Regions from separate parts of the Homo sapiens genome. Here region 2 is linked to region 1. The links are contacts of gene promoters, found by promoter capture Hi-C in blood cells and fetal thymus (Javierre and others, 2016). All regions are on one chromosome and are shown on one strand. Each heading gives the region's core, a stretch centred on a gene start or on the middle of the fragment in contact. The rest is flanking DNA. Distances are from core to core; before and after follow the strand shown. Region 1 holds the start of MED17 (mediator complex subunit 17). Region 2 holds the start of FAM76B (family with sequence similarity 76 member B).

What was found. Contacts are between HindIII fragments. The CHiCAGO score rates a contact against its expected background, and 5 or more counts as called.
Region 2: a contact is called between the fragment with the promoter of FAM76B here and the fragment with the promoter of MED17 in region 1, in 2 of 17 cell types (monocytes and non-activated CD4 T cells). The highest score is 5.6, in monocytes.

What each region holds. Positions count from the first base shown.
Region 1 is chr11:93,782,877-93,789,922 of GRCh38, forward strand. MED17 (mediator complex subunit 17) reads left to right here and starts at 1,406. Exons shown (of 12, transcript NM_004268.5): 1 at 1,406-1,887; 2 at 5,125-5,291. The coding sequence starts at 1,638. RefSeq lists enhancers at 1,227-1,521, 1,463-1,682, 3,691-4,190 and silencers at 1,813-1,942, 1,944-2,138. The HindIII fragment of the contact is 2,360 bases long and covers 48-2,407 here.
Region 2 is chr11:95,785,965-95,793,342 of GRCh38, forward strand. FAM76B (family with sequence similarity 76 member B) reads right to left here and starts at 3,818. Exons shown (of 10, transcript NM_144664.5): 1 at 3,428-3,818; 2 at 2,535-2,599; 3 at 1,660-1,714; 4 at 155-310. The coding sequence starts at 3,514. CEP57 (centrosomal protein 57) reads left to right here and starts at 4,534. Exons shown (of 11, transcript NM_014679.5): 1 at 4,534-4,779. The coding sequence starts at 4,735. RefSeq lists a silencer at 3,426-3,845 and enhancers at 4,346-4,815, 4,779-5,442. The HindIII fragment of the contact is 14,564 bases long and covers 1-4,922 here.

The sequences.
Region 1 (7,046 bases), core at 156-2,655:
ACAACTGGCTAAGCAGCTAGTTTTGATCTTGAAGACTTGGTGGCAAAAGCTTTGCTTATTCTAGGAATCATAATCATTTGTTGTTGTCTTGTTTTTGTCTGCACTATTAGACTGCCACTGCGCCTGGCTATTAATCAGATTTTAAAATAAAGTTAAAAAAAATTTTTAAACAAATTTACACGAAAAGCAAGTACAGTGGTTCTCGAACATGATTGGGCGACAGACTGTACAGCTTGCCAGAAATAGGTTTCTCTCATGAAAATTCAACCCCCTCCACACACGGCCATCTACTTTCTTCTTCAGCAGGGACTGACACCAGGGCAACCGTATTTTCCTAAATACCTTAGGAAAGTAGTTCAAAACCTAGATATATCTTGGTCAGAACAAAACCTGGCAAACACTCATGATAAACGGTATATATAATTCCTTAAACGAAATATAGAGGTTTGTAATATAAAATAATCCATCTTTGTCTGTGGAATTCCTACTAATGAAATACGTTCTTGGAGACCCAAAGACTGAAGTTATACCACTTCTTCTTAATCTTTTAAATATTATTTGCAGGCCAGGCATGGTGACACGCTCCTATAGTCCCAGCTCCTCAGGAGGCTAAGGCAGGAGCATCGTTGGAGCCCAGGAGCTCCAGGCTGTAGCGTGCTGACAGCACTTGTGAATAACCTCTGCACTCAGCCTGGGCAACATAGTGGGACCCCATCACTAATAAAAAAGCGAGATCAACATTATTTATTCTGTTACTCGGGCATAAAATAAATATTAAGCACTTACTACATGCCAGAGTCTATTATGTCTGCTGCAGATATTGGCTGTCATAGAGTTATAACTAACAGGAAACCAAATAATTACGTAGTATAATTTTAAGTGGTGATAAGCACGATTGTTTCCCCCAAGCCATGCCCTTAATTTCTAACTCTTCAGATAGTGTTTCTTTAAAAAATTTCTTGCTAATTTAAAATAACTTTTGTTTTGAGGCAGGATCCCACTCTGTTGCTTAGGCTGGAATGCAGCGGTGAGATCTCGGCTCACTGCAGCCTCCATCTCCAGGGCTCAAGCCATTCTCCCGCCTCAGCCACCCGCGTAGCTGGACCACAGGCGCGCGCCACCAGATCTCAGTTCTCTCAACAGGACTCTCATTGCTAAGATCCAAGGATCCATTAATTTCCTTTTCCTTAACTCTTCTAGCCTCTGCAGCTTTCTTTCCTCATCCACTTTTTAAACAAACGCAGGCTTAAAAAGCAAGGAATATACCCGCCACACTCTCGGCTCCCAAACCGCTCTTTCCCTCCCTCTGCCGGCCACGCCTCTTATAGGCCCGGAAGTTTACCCCACCCTGCACCGTGATTCACCGGAAGCGCTCTAGGGAACCCTGGAGCTTCCGCGCCTGCCCAGTTTTGCTCCGAAAGACTTACCGAGGAGGGAGCTTGCGGTGCGTTCTGGGAAAGTTGCTGGGCCAGCTCCTTTGTTTCCAGTCTGAGCGTTGCGTTCGGTTTCCCGAGGGTCTTCTGAGGCACCGCGGCTGCGGGCTTCTGAGTTCCCGGCTCTCCGCAGGGAAGCCTCCTCTTCGTACCTCGTTTTTTGGCTCGTGGGGGGTCCTCCCACCGCTGGCCGACGCAGCCAGCATGTCCGGGGTGCGCGCAGTGCGGATCAGCATCGAATCGGCCTGCGAGAAGCAGGTCCATGAGGTGGGCCTGGATGGCACCGAGACGTACCTGCCCCCGCTGTCCATGTCGCAGAATCTGGCGCGTCTGGCCCAGCGGATAGACTTCAGCCAGGGTTCGGGCTCCGAGGAGGAGGAGGCGGCGGGGACCGAGGGCGACGCGCAGGAGTGGCCGGGCGCCGGGTCCAGCGCAGACCAGGACGACGAGGAAGGTAAGGCCTGCATCCGCTGCCCGAGTCCCCCGGTCTGGGTCCCAGCACCCGCGCGGGCCTCCGCCTCTCCCGCGATGGGGGTGATCTTGTGCGTGCGAGAACTTTTGAGTGTCCCTCTAGCGGAAGCGTAAGGATACTTGGTCGTCATCTTTTTGTTGCTGCCGGACAAGGTAGGACACGACTTTACGTAATACTCCTGCGGGTCTCCTTGAATGGCAGCGTTTAGAGACACTGTCAAACCGTGAAATGTTTAAATGAATGCTTCTCTGTAGAGGGCCTTTAATGTAGCACACTTAGTGGCTAAAAGAGCCCTAGATCGGGGCTCTGCCCCTTGCCGGCTGTGTGACCTTGGGCGAGTTACTTTGCATCCTTGTGCGGTGTGAATGATGATAGTAGCACCTGCAGAAAAGAGGTCTGTTTTGACTGAAATGTGTGACGAGGTCCAAGAGGTAGGCGGGTCCAGATCATGTAGAACCCAGTAGGCCGGGATAAGCGTTTGACTAGTGTTAAGACCACTGAAAGCTTTTGCAGGATAAGTAGAGATGGTTTTGTTAAAGTTTACTCTAGATGCTTTCTAATAAATGAATTATAGGGAAAGCAAAACTGGAAGGGAGGAGACTAGGAGGGAAGTGAAGAAATAATGAGTGGGTTTCAGATTCTCATTATTGTCAAGGATTTTTGAAAAAAAAATCAAAATTCTTAATTTAGTTATGCAGCACACCCAGTGTAAATGGGAATTTAAAGATGTCATTTCAGGGCAGTGCTGTTAGGATTATTAGGGGTCTATTTGCAAAAAAAGGTAAATACTACTTTATACCTCACACAAAAATTATTTCCACAGTAATTTTTGAGGATTGAAGTGCCAAATGAAGAAAGTAAAACAAAGTGTTAGAAGAAATAATGAAAGAATAGTTGTATTATTCTGGGAGTCGGATAGATCTTCTTAATTTCGGAAATAACAGGACAGGCATGGTGGCTCACACCTGTAGTTCCAACATTTTTGGAGGCCAAGGTGGAAGGATCACTTGAGCCCAGACTTCAAGACCAGCCTGAGCAACATAGGGAGCTCCTGCCTCTACAAATTAAAAAAATTAGCTGGGCGTGGTGGTGCACGTCTGTGGTCCCAGCTACTGGGGAGGCTGAGGGAGGAGGATGGATTCAGCCAGTGAGATCAAGGCTGCAGTGAGCTATGATTGTGCCACCGCACTCCAGCCTGGGTAACAGAACAAGACTCTAACATCCACACACACAACCACACACCTACCTACCTTACAAAGTATAGATATATTACTTACATAAAATTTAAAAATAATGGGAAAAGATGCCATAAGCAAAGTAAAAAGATAAATGACAGACTGGGAGAAGTTCTACACATATAACACAAATTTAGTTGATATCTTCTCTATTCAAAAAGTCCCTTCAGACTGAAAAGAAAATAATGACACTTTGGAAAAATAGGCCAAAGGTATCTGAAGGCTCATAGAGGAGAGACTTCAGATACCAATAAACAGAACATAGACTCAATCTCATTACTAGGGACTGGGAAATTAAAACATGATTAAGATACTCTTTCCATGCACAAAATTGACAGAAATTGAAAAGATTGTTAATATTCAGGGTTAGGAATGTGAACTGGTAGTGATTCTGAAAGACAATTTGGCAGTTTAATATGTGCCAACATTTAATTTTAACTTTTTTTGGTTTGTTTTGTTTTTTTTTTTGAGATGGAGTCTTGCTCTGTCGGCCAGGCTGGAGTGCAGTGGTGCAATCTCGGCTCACTGCAACCCCTGCCTCCTGGATTCAAAACGATTCTCCCACTTCAGCTTCCCTAGTATGTGGGACTGTAGGCGTGCGGCACCATGCCTGGCTAATTTTTGTATTTTTAGTAGAGATAGAGTTTCACCATGTTGGCCAGGCTGGTCTTAAATACCTGATGTCAGGTGATCCACCCTGCCTCGGCCTCCCAAAGTGCTGGGATTACAGGCCTGAGCCACTGCACCCAGCCGAAACTTTTAAATGTATATCTCCTTTGATTCACTATTACCACGACTAAAAATTTAACCTGCAGAAAAAGTTGCACATATACAGGGTATATATTCAAGATGTTTACCACTGCTAGCATTGTTGGAAGCAGTTTACTTGTTGGAAGCAATCTACATGTCCGTTAAATACAAGTGGTTAAACATACCGTACATCCATGTTCCAGAATATCATACAGTGTTAGAAGAATTAAGTAGACTCATAAGTACTAACATGGAAGTGTCTCTAGGAAATATTAAGTGGGGGCGGGGGAAAGGCAAGTAATAGAAAATTGGAAATAGATGTATGTAAGTGCATAGAAAAACCTTTGAAAGGGTACACTCACTGGGGCCGGGCGCAGTGGCTCACGTCTGTAATCCCAGCACTTTCGGAGGCCGGGGCAGGCAGATCACGAGGTCAGGAGATCAAGACCATCCTGACTAACATGGTGAAACCCCGTCTCTACTAAAAATACAAAAAATTAGCTGGGCGTGGTGGTGGGTGCTTGTAGTCCCAGCTACTGGGGAGGCTGAGGCAGGAGAATGGCATGAATCCGGGAGGTGGAGCTTGCAGTGAGCTGAGATCGCGCTACTGCACTCCAGCCTGGGTGACAGAGCAAGACTTTGTCTCAAAAAGAAAAAAAAAAGAAAAGAAAGGCTACGCTCCATCTGTTAATAGTGGTTACCTCTCAGGAGGGGAGAGAATCGGGTGGGGAATGAAGGAAAACTTTCACTTTTTACCCTCTAATTCTTTATTGTGTGAACTCTATATAGTGAATGTTCATGTATTTAATCACAATACTTTTTTTAATGGTTAAAAGGAAGATATGCTAATAGTGGCTGGCTTACAGGTCATTTTCATTTTGTACTTTTCTGTATTTTGGAAATTTTGTACAATTGTAAATTCAAGTTCTAAACACTGTAAGAAGATTATTAAAAAGGTTTACATAAATTTGAAAAGAGATTTGAGTCTATAATGTTGTAATGATAAATTTAACCTGTGGAAATAGATGTCATATTCATTTTGCGATTGTAGGAATGCTAATGTGAATGTTAACAAAGTTTTAAGAAACGGTAGAGGAGATGGCATAAATAAGAGAACAATTTGAAATTTAATTAATTATTTCTCCTTTTAGTACTTTTTAAACCTAAGTGAGCTGTCTGCCATTCAATGTAACGAATACTTCTGTATTTCTTTTTTTTCTCTCTCTCTTTTTAGGAGTGGTAAAATTTCAGCCTTCCCTTTGGCCTTGGGACTCAGTGAGGAACAATTTGAGAAGTGCCCTGACAGAGATGTGTGTTCTCTATGATGTTCTCAGTATTGTTAGGGATAAAAAATTTATGACTCTTGATCCTGTCTCTCAGGATGCACTTCCTCCAAAACAGGTATTTGTGGACTTTAATTGAATAATAAAATTTTATTTATTAAATCCCAGGACCCTTTTTTGGCTTTGTGCCTGTTGTTCCATTTTCCTTTCTTGCAAAATTAAGTCCAGATGAAGATTTAAAGACTAACTGGTCTAAAACAAAGCCATACAACTGCATTTCCTTTATTTTTTTATTATATACCTATGATCCTTGGAAGAGTTAAGTTTCATTAAGAATGTAATACCTTTAAGGCCAGGCGTGGTGGCTCACGCCTGTAATCCCAGCACTTTGGGAGGCCAAGGCGGGCAGATCACGAGGTCAGGAGATCGAGACCATCCTGGCTAATGCTGTGAAACCTTGTCTCTATTAAAAATAACAAAAATAAGCCAGGCGTGGTGGTGGGCACCTGTAGTCCCAGCTACTCAGAAGGCTGAGGCAGGAGAATTGCTTGAGCCTGGGAGGCGGGGGTTGCAGTGAGCTGAGATCGCGCCACTGCACTCCAGCCTGGGCGACAGAGCGAGATTCCATCCCAAAAAAAAAAAAAAAAAGAATGTAATACTTTAAAGGTTACCAAATCTTAACAAATTCTTATAGCCTGGGTCCTTGGTCTGTGATATATTACACAAAAATGTGATGATATAATGGCTTTGGAATCAGGTAGACCTGGATTCGAATCCTGCCTCTGCCTTCATTAACTGTGTGACCTTAAATTAAGCAAGTTATTTTCTCTTAAGTCCCTGTTTTTCCATCTAATCCTTCCTTCCCTTTTTTTTTAAGGGATGGATTAGAAAAGTTAGGCGAAATTATGGAGCATATTGAGAGCTGGGTAGAATTGCTGCTATTTCATAAACAGTGTATTCAATTTTTGAACATTTGAAGATGAAAGAGAAGTAGCAGGAAGATGAGTTGGTGAATAGTCTGAAATCATTGAGGCTACTTGGGTCCTTAAGGAAAACAAGTGTCAAGACCATAACCAAATTAGTCATGGAGAAGAAGTAATGACTGTTAGAACCCATTTGTAAATAAAATTAATTGAATAGAATTACTCACATAGTAATAGTTTCAGAATCTAGAAACATTGTGCTGGGGGACTAATAGAGTTCCCTAAATCTGCATTCTTCATTTTATAGAGAGAAAACTAAAGCTTAAAGAGATTTGTAATATGTTCAAGTTGCTGTCAAGCCAGTAGTTAGGGAGCCAAGACTAGAACTCCAGCACCTAACTCATAGCCCCACTGCCTTTTCTACTATTCTGTGCTTTTCCCAGAAGGGAGTCTCCAGGAATTTCTTAATATCTCCAGGAACTCTTTTATTTACGTTCCCTAATACAATCAAAAGATTATTTTGATATGTTTATGAAGCTTTTTATGTGATTTTTGACTCTCATACAGCCAGAAAACTGTATTAAACTGGTTAGTAAAATACACAAATTATGGTGATTGTGGATATTTATATATGCATATGTGATACATAGATAGTGACTTCTGATCAGTTTTCCAAAAAATTAGGATTCAGTGAAGTACATTTAATATTAACAATGGCAGGGCACGGTGGCTTATGCCTGTAATTCCAACACTTTGGGGAACCAAAGCAGGAAGCCAGGAGTTTGAGACTTTCCCAGGCAACATAGCAAGACCCTGTCTCTACCAAAAAAAAAAAAAAAAGCCAGGCTTGGTGTTGCACATCTGGAGTCCCAGCTTCTCAAGAAGCTGAAGCAGGAGGATCACTTGAGCCAGTAGGTCAAGGCTATGGTGAGCCAAGATGGTGGTACTGC
Region 2 (7,378 bases), core at 2,568-5,067, 2.0 Mb after region 1:
GAGAAAACTCACTATTCCTGCACTTTCATCTAACTACTTGCTTTCATGGACCTAAAGAATAGATCCAGTCTCAGTAGTGTATTAATTATAATTTCCAACTTGTTTGGCATTTTATTTAATTTCCAGAAGATGTCATAACATAAATAAAGCATACCTTTCTTCTTCCTTCCTCCTTCCGATCAAAAGCACATTGCTGTTTGCACTGTTCACAGGTCTGAGGTGGTCCATACTTTTTTTCTGAATTTGTGCAACGCTGACACTTGGTACCAATAAATGCTGCAATTATGTTACAGTACTGACAAGGCTTGGGCTGAAAAACATACACATTTTGAGACTTTTAAAAACATTAAATATTTGCGGCATAGCATATACCCAGTGTTGTAGACATATTTCTGGAATTAAGAAAACTCAGGTAAAAAATTTGTTTTCTGTCAAGTTTGTTGCCCTGTCACATGCAATAACTTTTATACCATATTTCTATGCATTCAACTAGTATTTATTTCTAGTCATGTAACTATTACTCTAAGATCGTGAGAAATAGATTTGTGATTTGCATAGTCTGTTAGATAATACAAAAACTACACATAAAAAAGGTTTTAAAGAACGAAAATAAAGGTACATATGTAGAGAAGTCTCATGAATCAAGAATTTGAGGAAACGTCCTTCTACTAATATCCTAGTTACCTTAATGACCATATCATTTATTTAGAAAATGTTAACTTTTCATCACATATAGGTACAAATCATATAAGGAATATATACTGTGAGTTTTCAACTTTGAAAAAATGAGAACAAGCATATTCAACATAAACTATAAAAACATACCTTGATTTTCTTTGATATTCAAAAGATGATTCAGGGCAGTTTAGAGCGTTAAAGTTAGCATTTTTGACCAATAATAAATAATATTGGTATAATATACCTATAATGATTGTAGTATACATATAAGACAATTTGTACTAGGATTGGGTCATGACTTCTGTGAATAAATATCTTTAATTGCGCTGTTTTATAAAAATAGTTCTGAGGAGGCTGTTCTGAAGTGGGCTAAAGTCTGATGATGCAAACTTTATGGATAAGTTCTCCATAACCAAGAATTTGCTATATTTGAATCTCTAAAGAACAGCTTCACAAATTTCACACTGGATTCAATACATGTAAAACAGGTATATAATTTGACTGTTTTTAAATGTTATCACCTTTCCATCAAAGTATCTATAGAAAATGTCTTTCATAAAATATGGTATGTTGAAATATCTAAGAGCATAGCAGTAGTTTTTTTTTTTCGAGACGCAGTCTCGCTCTGTCCCCCAGGCTGGAGTGCAGTGGCAGGATCTCAGCTCACTGCAAACTCCGCCTCCTGAGTTCACGCCATTCTCCTGCCTCAGCCTCTGGAGTAGCTGGGACTACAGGCGCCCACCACCATACCCGGCTCATTTTTTTTTTGTTGTATTTTTAGTAGACATGGGGTTTCACCGTGTTAGCCAGGATGGTCTCCATCTCCTGACCTTGTGATCCGCCCTCCTCGGCCTCCCAAAGTGCTGGGATTACAGGCGTGAGCCACTGTGCCCAGCCAGCAGTACATATTTTTTTAAAAGGTCCAGCTTTATGAAAAATATTAACTGGTAACAATGACATGAAAACATAAGACATACTTACCGTCCCAAATTGCTTCACATTTTGAGCACACTTCTTACAAATTGTGTTAGTTTTGCTGAAAAATAAATTGTATATAGATCATGTTTATGTAGCTTTCTAAAGTAATTAGCACAATGTCAAAATAAAATGAGTCAAAGATTTGTTGTACTTAAAACTTTAATAAGGACCACGGATTTTTTTCAAATATACAAGGATATTTTCAGAGTTGTTTTACCCAAATTAACTTATGACAAATGTTTTTATACATTTTTATTGCATATTACTTTTTGTAAACAAAACATCTTAATGTTTCCTATATAGCTCCAAAATCTTCACACTTGACACTATTACTGCACAGCATTACAATACCAGTGCCTACCTAACCTTCCACTTGGCTACTGTCCAACATTATAATGCCCACACCTATTTATGAAGAAATTATTTGTTCTTTTCTGAGGCTACTTTCTGTATATACTCTCAGAGTGGAACTGTTAAAAATGTTACGTACTACTCCTCTTCTATGTAACAAATTATTAGATTTTCACCTTGGAAGGCAGTTGGTAACACTACAGACCTTTCCTCAGATCCATTAAGGCTTTACCATTTTTTTTTAGTTTAACATAACTGTTTACATTTGCATTTTCATTAGCAAGGCTGTACATTTTCCATGTAGTATTATTCCTTCTCTCATATAAAGTCTAACTGTAAATTAACCACCACTGGTTTTTTTCGCAACATTCTCTCTCCCACCATGTATAAAAGGTTTACAACTTAAAATTTCTGGGGCTAAACCATTTTTTAAAAATACTTTCATAAAAACATGGGATTACAACCCCCAAGTATTCCATAAAGACAACACTTGTCTTTAACAGTCAAAAACTATTCAGTATACAAACCTCTCTTGTTGAAATTCTGATCTGCAGTAAGTACATTTTACAATAGGATGTGCAATCCGACATTCCTGTAATAAGACAATACATTAGTCAGTATCTTTCTGAAAGTCCCAAATCTCACTTTTCTGGTAGAAAACTGTTTACCCAACCTAGTGAAAGTCTAAAACATTTATAAAACCTGGCCCCAACGTAAAGAACTGGATGCTTTATCATATAAGTGGCCAATCACAATATAATTCCTTAGGGAAGGCACAGGTGTCTTTGTCTTTAGTAGACGTGGGGGTATATTACAGACAAATTAAGAAAGCTGTCAGGGCCTATTTCAAGGATTGGTTAAATGTGAAACTACTTATTATTTTGCACCGTTGCTCACAGACAGCATCCAGGCTTTAATGGGATGGGAGGAGCTCCAAATCAGAGCATTCTGTTCCCAAACCAGTCGCTTCGCTTTCCTGGACAGGGAAGAAGGATGCCATCAGCTTTGCGGCTTCGGGTTCCTAGCAAGAAAGTGCAAAAACCGTCCCCTGCCTCCTGGTGGAAGAAGAGGACAGACCAGGCAGAAAACCGAGATGAAAACATCTCCACCCCTGGGTCTCTGCGGCATAGACAGGTGGCTGCCTCACTCAACCCCACTCCTGAGACCCCCAGACGCTGACGGGGCCCGGCACCCTCCTGGGCCGCCTGGAAAAGGGCACGATTCTGCCTCCCTTTCAGGGTCCGTTCCCAGCTAATGTTCAAGCCCCCAGAAAAAGGGGTCCCCGAGTGGGGAGGCGAGGGCTCCAGACTCCCAAACCCCTGAGGCGCCGGCGAAGAGGGGCTGCAGTGCAGCGGCTACCCGGCCCCCTCCGGCTACGGCCGAGGACACCCATCCCGCCCGCCTCCCGGAGCCCACGGACCTTGCAGAGCTGCTGGCCCTGGGAGAGCTCCTCGAAAGGATAACGCTGGGTACACTTGGTGCAGGCGTACAGGGCCGAGGCCGCCATCCTGCTCCTCAGTCTCCTCCTCCGCCGCCGCCCGCTCCGAGGCGGGGCCCTACGGAGAACCCGAGAGCCGCCGCCGCCCGGGCCGCGGGCTCCTCCTCCTCCCCCTCCCCCTGCCTCGCGCCCACCAGGGCCTCGCCGCGAGAGCCCAGGGCCCCGCGGACGACGCCACCGTCTCCCTCCGCCTCCACTTCCGCCCCAGCCCACCCAGTGACGCCGTGCCAGCCGCTCCCGCTTAGGCCCCGATAGCGGCGGAGGGAGACGAAGCGGGTAGGGGGTTGCTGTTTAGCTGTGCGGCCGTGGATCCGCTTCCTTCTCGGCCTCCCTTTCCCATCCCTGATTGGCTGCGAAGGCTATCGCGTCATTCGATGGCTCCTCCCAACTCCCAACTTCCGCGACGCAGGAAGCGCCCACAAAGGGAGGATGTCGCCGGCCAATGACATCCCGGAGCTCTCAGCGCGCGAAATCCGCTTTGAACCTGCCCCGCCCAAAGGTCTGCGGTCGCGGCTATTTCTAACAGCCAGTCCCAGGTTTGGCTGAGAGCGCCCCAATCCAATTGAGCAAATGTTCGCGAAAGGCTCGTTCTCTGCCGCAACTTTTTTTCCCTTGCTTTCTATTGGACTAAATCGTTAAGTCCCTCCTAATCCTATTTGTTATTGGCCAAAAGGTAAATACTTCACCTGGAGAGGCGTCCCCGAGGCAAATTCACGCTCTCTCCGGCGTTTAATCCGAGGGAACTCGTGGAGTGCTTTAACTTCGCCTTCGCTTTTGTTTTATCTCCATTACTCCCTTCAGTTGCCACTGGCGACACCACTACTCGCCCACGCTTCTTACTGGAGGAGGCCCGACCCTCCGTAGAATCCCCGCAGAGCCGGCCTGTAACCCCGGCGTTGTCTGCCCCAGCGGGCCCCGTTACGCGCTACCTTGTGACGTCACCAGGGAAGAGGCGGATTCTCTCCTACTACAGAAAGACGTCTGCTGTTTTGATTGGCTAGGAAAGACGTCCGTTAGGACGTGTTGCCCTTTCTGTGTAAGCTGTGAGCGTAGGCGGCCCTGAGGGGGTGTGTTGCAGGGGTTTCCAAGCCCAGCACCAGCACCCTTGCCCTTTTCCATCAGGGGTTCAGCCTAGGGTCCCCGCTGGTGGGCGGCTCCCGAGTCTTGGAGAAGAGCACGAGAACCTAGACCGCCCCCGAAGTGCGGAGACCCCCTGGGCAGGCTGAAAGATGGCGGCGGCGTCTGTCTCTGCGGCTTCTGGTTCTCACTTGTCGGTAAGAAGCAGTTGGCGCGAGTGGGCCCCACGTCGGCCCTAAGCGCCTCTTTGAGTTTCCTCACGTTTCAGGGCGCTGTCAGTCCAGCTTCTGACGCAATTCTGGAGGTCGGCGGGAATGCCTAGATTGCCCCGCGCTCCCCAAGCTTCCATTCACTGTGGCTGTGTCGAAGCTGCACCCTCTGGCTCCCAGTGAAACTGGGCTGGCCGCCCCTGTTCCCCAGCCCTTATTCACCTTTTGGCGTAGCAACCAACCCCGGTTGCCTAACATTCCCAAGGGCCGGCTGGGATAACTGCCCACTCCCTGGCCTGCAAAAATGTAGCTCTTTTGGTCACGTGGGTTCAGCGGCCCCTCTAGGAAACTCGCCAGATCAGGTGAGGCGCGCCAGTGTGTTTAAGAGACGTTGCAGAATAGTAGTCCGCCGTCTCTCGAGCGCTTACTAGTCGTTGCTTATGCTGTTTCCTATCCCTGCAGTGCCTCCCACTCCCATCCACATTAACTTCGTTGTGTGATGCTCGTAGCCAGAACGCGCGCTTCCTGTCACCTAGAATTACTGGAACTTCAATGTGGAAATGCCCTTTTGGAGAGGCGACAGGGGGAATTGATTTTAAATATTGTTTTCGCCTCATCAAATGTCACCATCCAGTTTAGTTACTGGTATTCACTGGTATTTCTCAAATTGGAGTGTCGAATGCTTAGGTTTTTGAAAACCGCGGCATTGGAAAGCTTTGATAGGAAGTAAATGTTGGAGCTCTTATTTCTCCAGTTAGCAAATGTTCGATGCCTGGTATACTGTTAGGGTCCAAATGAACAGAATAGAAACCCTGCTTTGAAGGAGAAAAACACTGAAGAGAAACTACACGTAATTAGTGATTACTGCGCAGTATAGTTTAGGAAGTGCTACCGTAGTAGAATAATCTAGAGGGGAGTGATTAACAGTGCTTGGGTAGGCTAGAGAAGGTTTCCTAGAAGGGAAGATGGAGCTAGTTGCGTGTCGAAGGAATTGTGATTGCTTGTCCCAAGAGTAGAGAAAGGAGAAAAAGGCAGTGCGGGAATTTTGGAGTATGTGCTAGAACAGTAGGTGCTTTTAGGAAACTTGAGATAGTTCGGAATGAGAAGAAGTAATACGGAGGTAGAGCTGGATGAGGTGAATTGGAAACGTAGGTAAAAACGTGAAAAAAGAAGGATGGTGAGGGAAGGAACTAGAAGAGTATCAGGGTAAAGTTATTTTCTAGGATCTAGGGGGAAAGAGTTGGAAACGCTAAGAAAGCCTGGTCACCTTGGAGAAGTCAGTTTCAGCTTTTGGAGACTTGTTAGAATTTGTAATAATGGGACTAGAAGTATTACAGTGTTTCAGCCGAATGGGAATTAGAAGTTTGCAGAGAGGTCTGGGGAAGTTAAGGAGAAGTAAGGAAAGCAGCAATTTAAGGTTATTCAGGATTAGGTCAGTAAAAGAAAAAAGTAAAAAACTATTGGAAGTGTCAGCAGATGGATGAGATTTTATAGGAGATGTGATTAAACTTGGGAGAAGAGGGCTTTTCACGGCTCTCAAAAGTTAAGCACTTGGAGACCGAACAAGGAATACTCTTACAAATGTTGAATTGAGTCTGGGTGCGTGGCTCATGCCTGTAATACCAGCTACTAGTGAGGCTGAGGCGGGAGGATCACTGAGGCTGAAGTGAGGTATGATAGTGCCACTGCTCTCCAGCCTGGGCGACAGAGCGACCCTGTCTCCATAAAATAAAATATTAAATAAACGTTTAATTGAGCTGCACTATGCCAAGGACACCTAGGTGAGCATTGGCACTGGGATATAGTCAGCTGTTAATACTTATACGGTACCCTTGACAGAAATACCAAAGACTGTTCATTAGGAAAGCATATTTTTTTTGTGCTAAGCTCAGCTTTAATAGGATTCTAAATATCAAGGGTACACTAAGAATATCTAGGAACCTCCACAAATCAAAGTATAACAACCATAACTCAATCTGCTACATCAAAATGTCTATTTTGGAAGTTACTGTTTCTCAAAACAAAAATGACTAAATTTAGTTGGTTTCTTGGTGCGTAAGAAAACGTCCTGCTTAGATGTCCCATCAGAAATAAGGCTGCCATTTCCAACAGCGTTGGAAAAGCACTTAGCTTATCAAACAGCTGATCTTAACAGTAGGCAACATTTAAAAAAAAAAAAACTTGTTAAAACTATACCATGAACTGAGAACACAACTCGTATTCAGATTTCACGGTTATGAAGATTAACAACTGTTATATTCAACTGTTTTCGACATTGATAAACTCATACGGAGCTAGTTATAAGTACATTGAGATGCTTTACAGGCAAAGATTTTTAACAAGTAGATTCATAAATAACCGTCTTTGGGAAGCAGTGACCATGTAAATCTCAAATGTGAACAGCATGGAAGTAGGGCGATAGGTTTCAGTTAGGTTCTAGGTAACGTTTATTGAGTGATTGCTCTGGAATTGATAAACTTCGACTGGTGGAAAAGGCAGGAAAGCAACTATGATTGGGCATAATGAAATTAATTCCATATGGAGGTATGGGCAGCATTGTGTTGAAATACACAAGAATGTCTTTCAT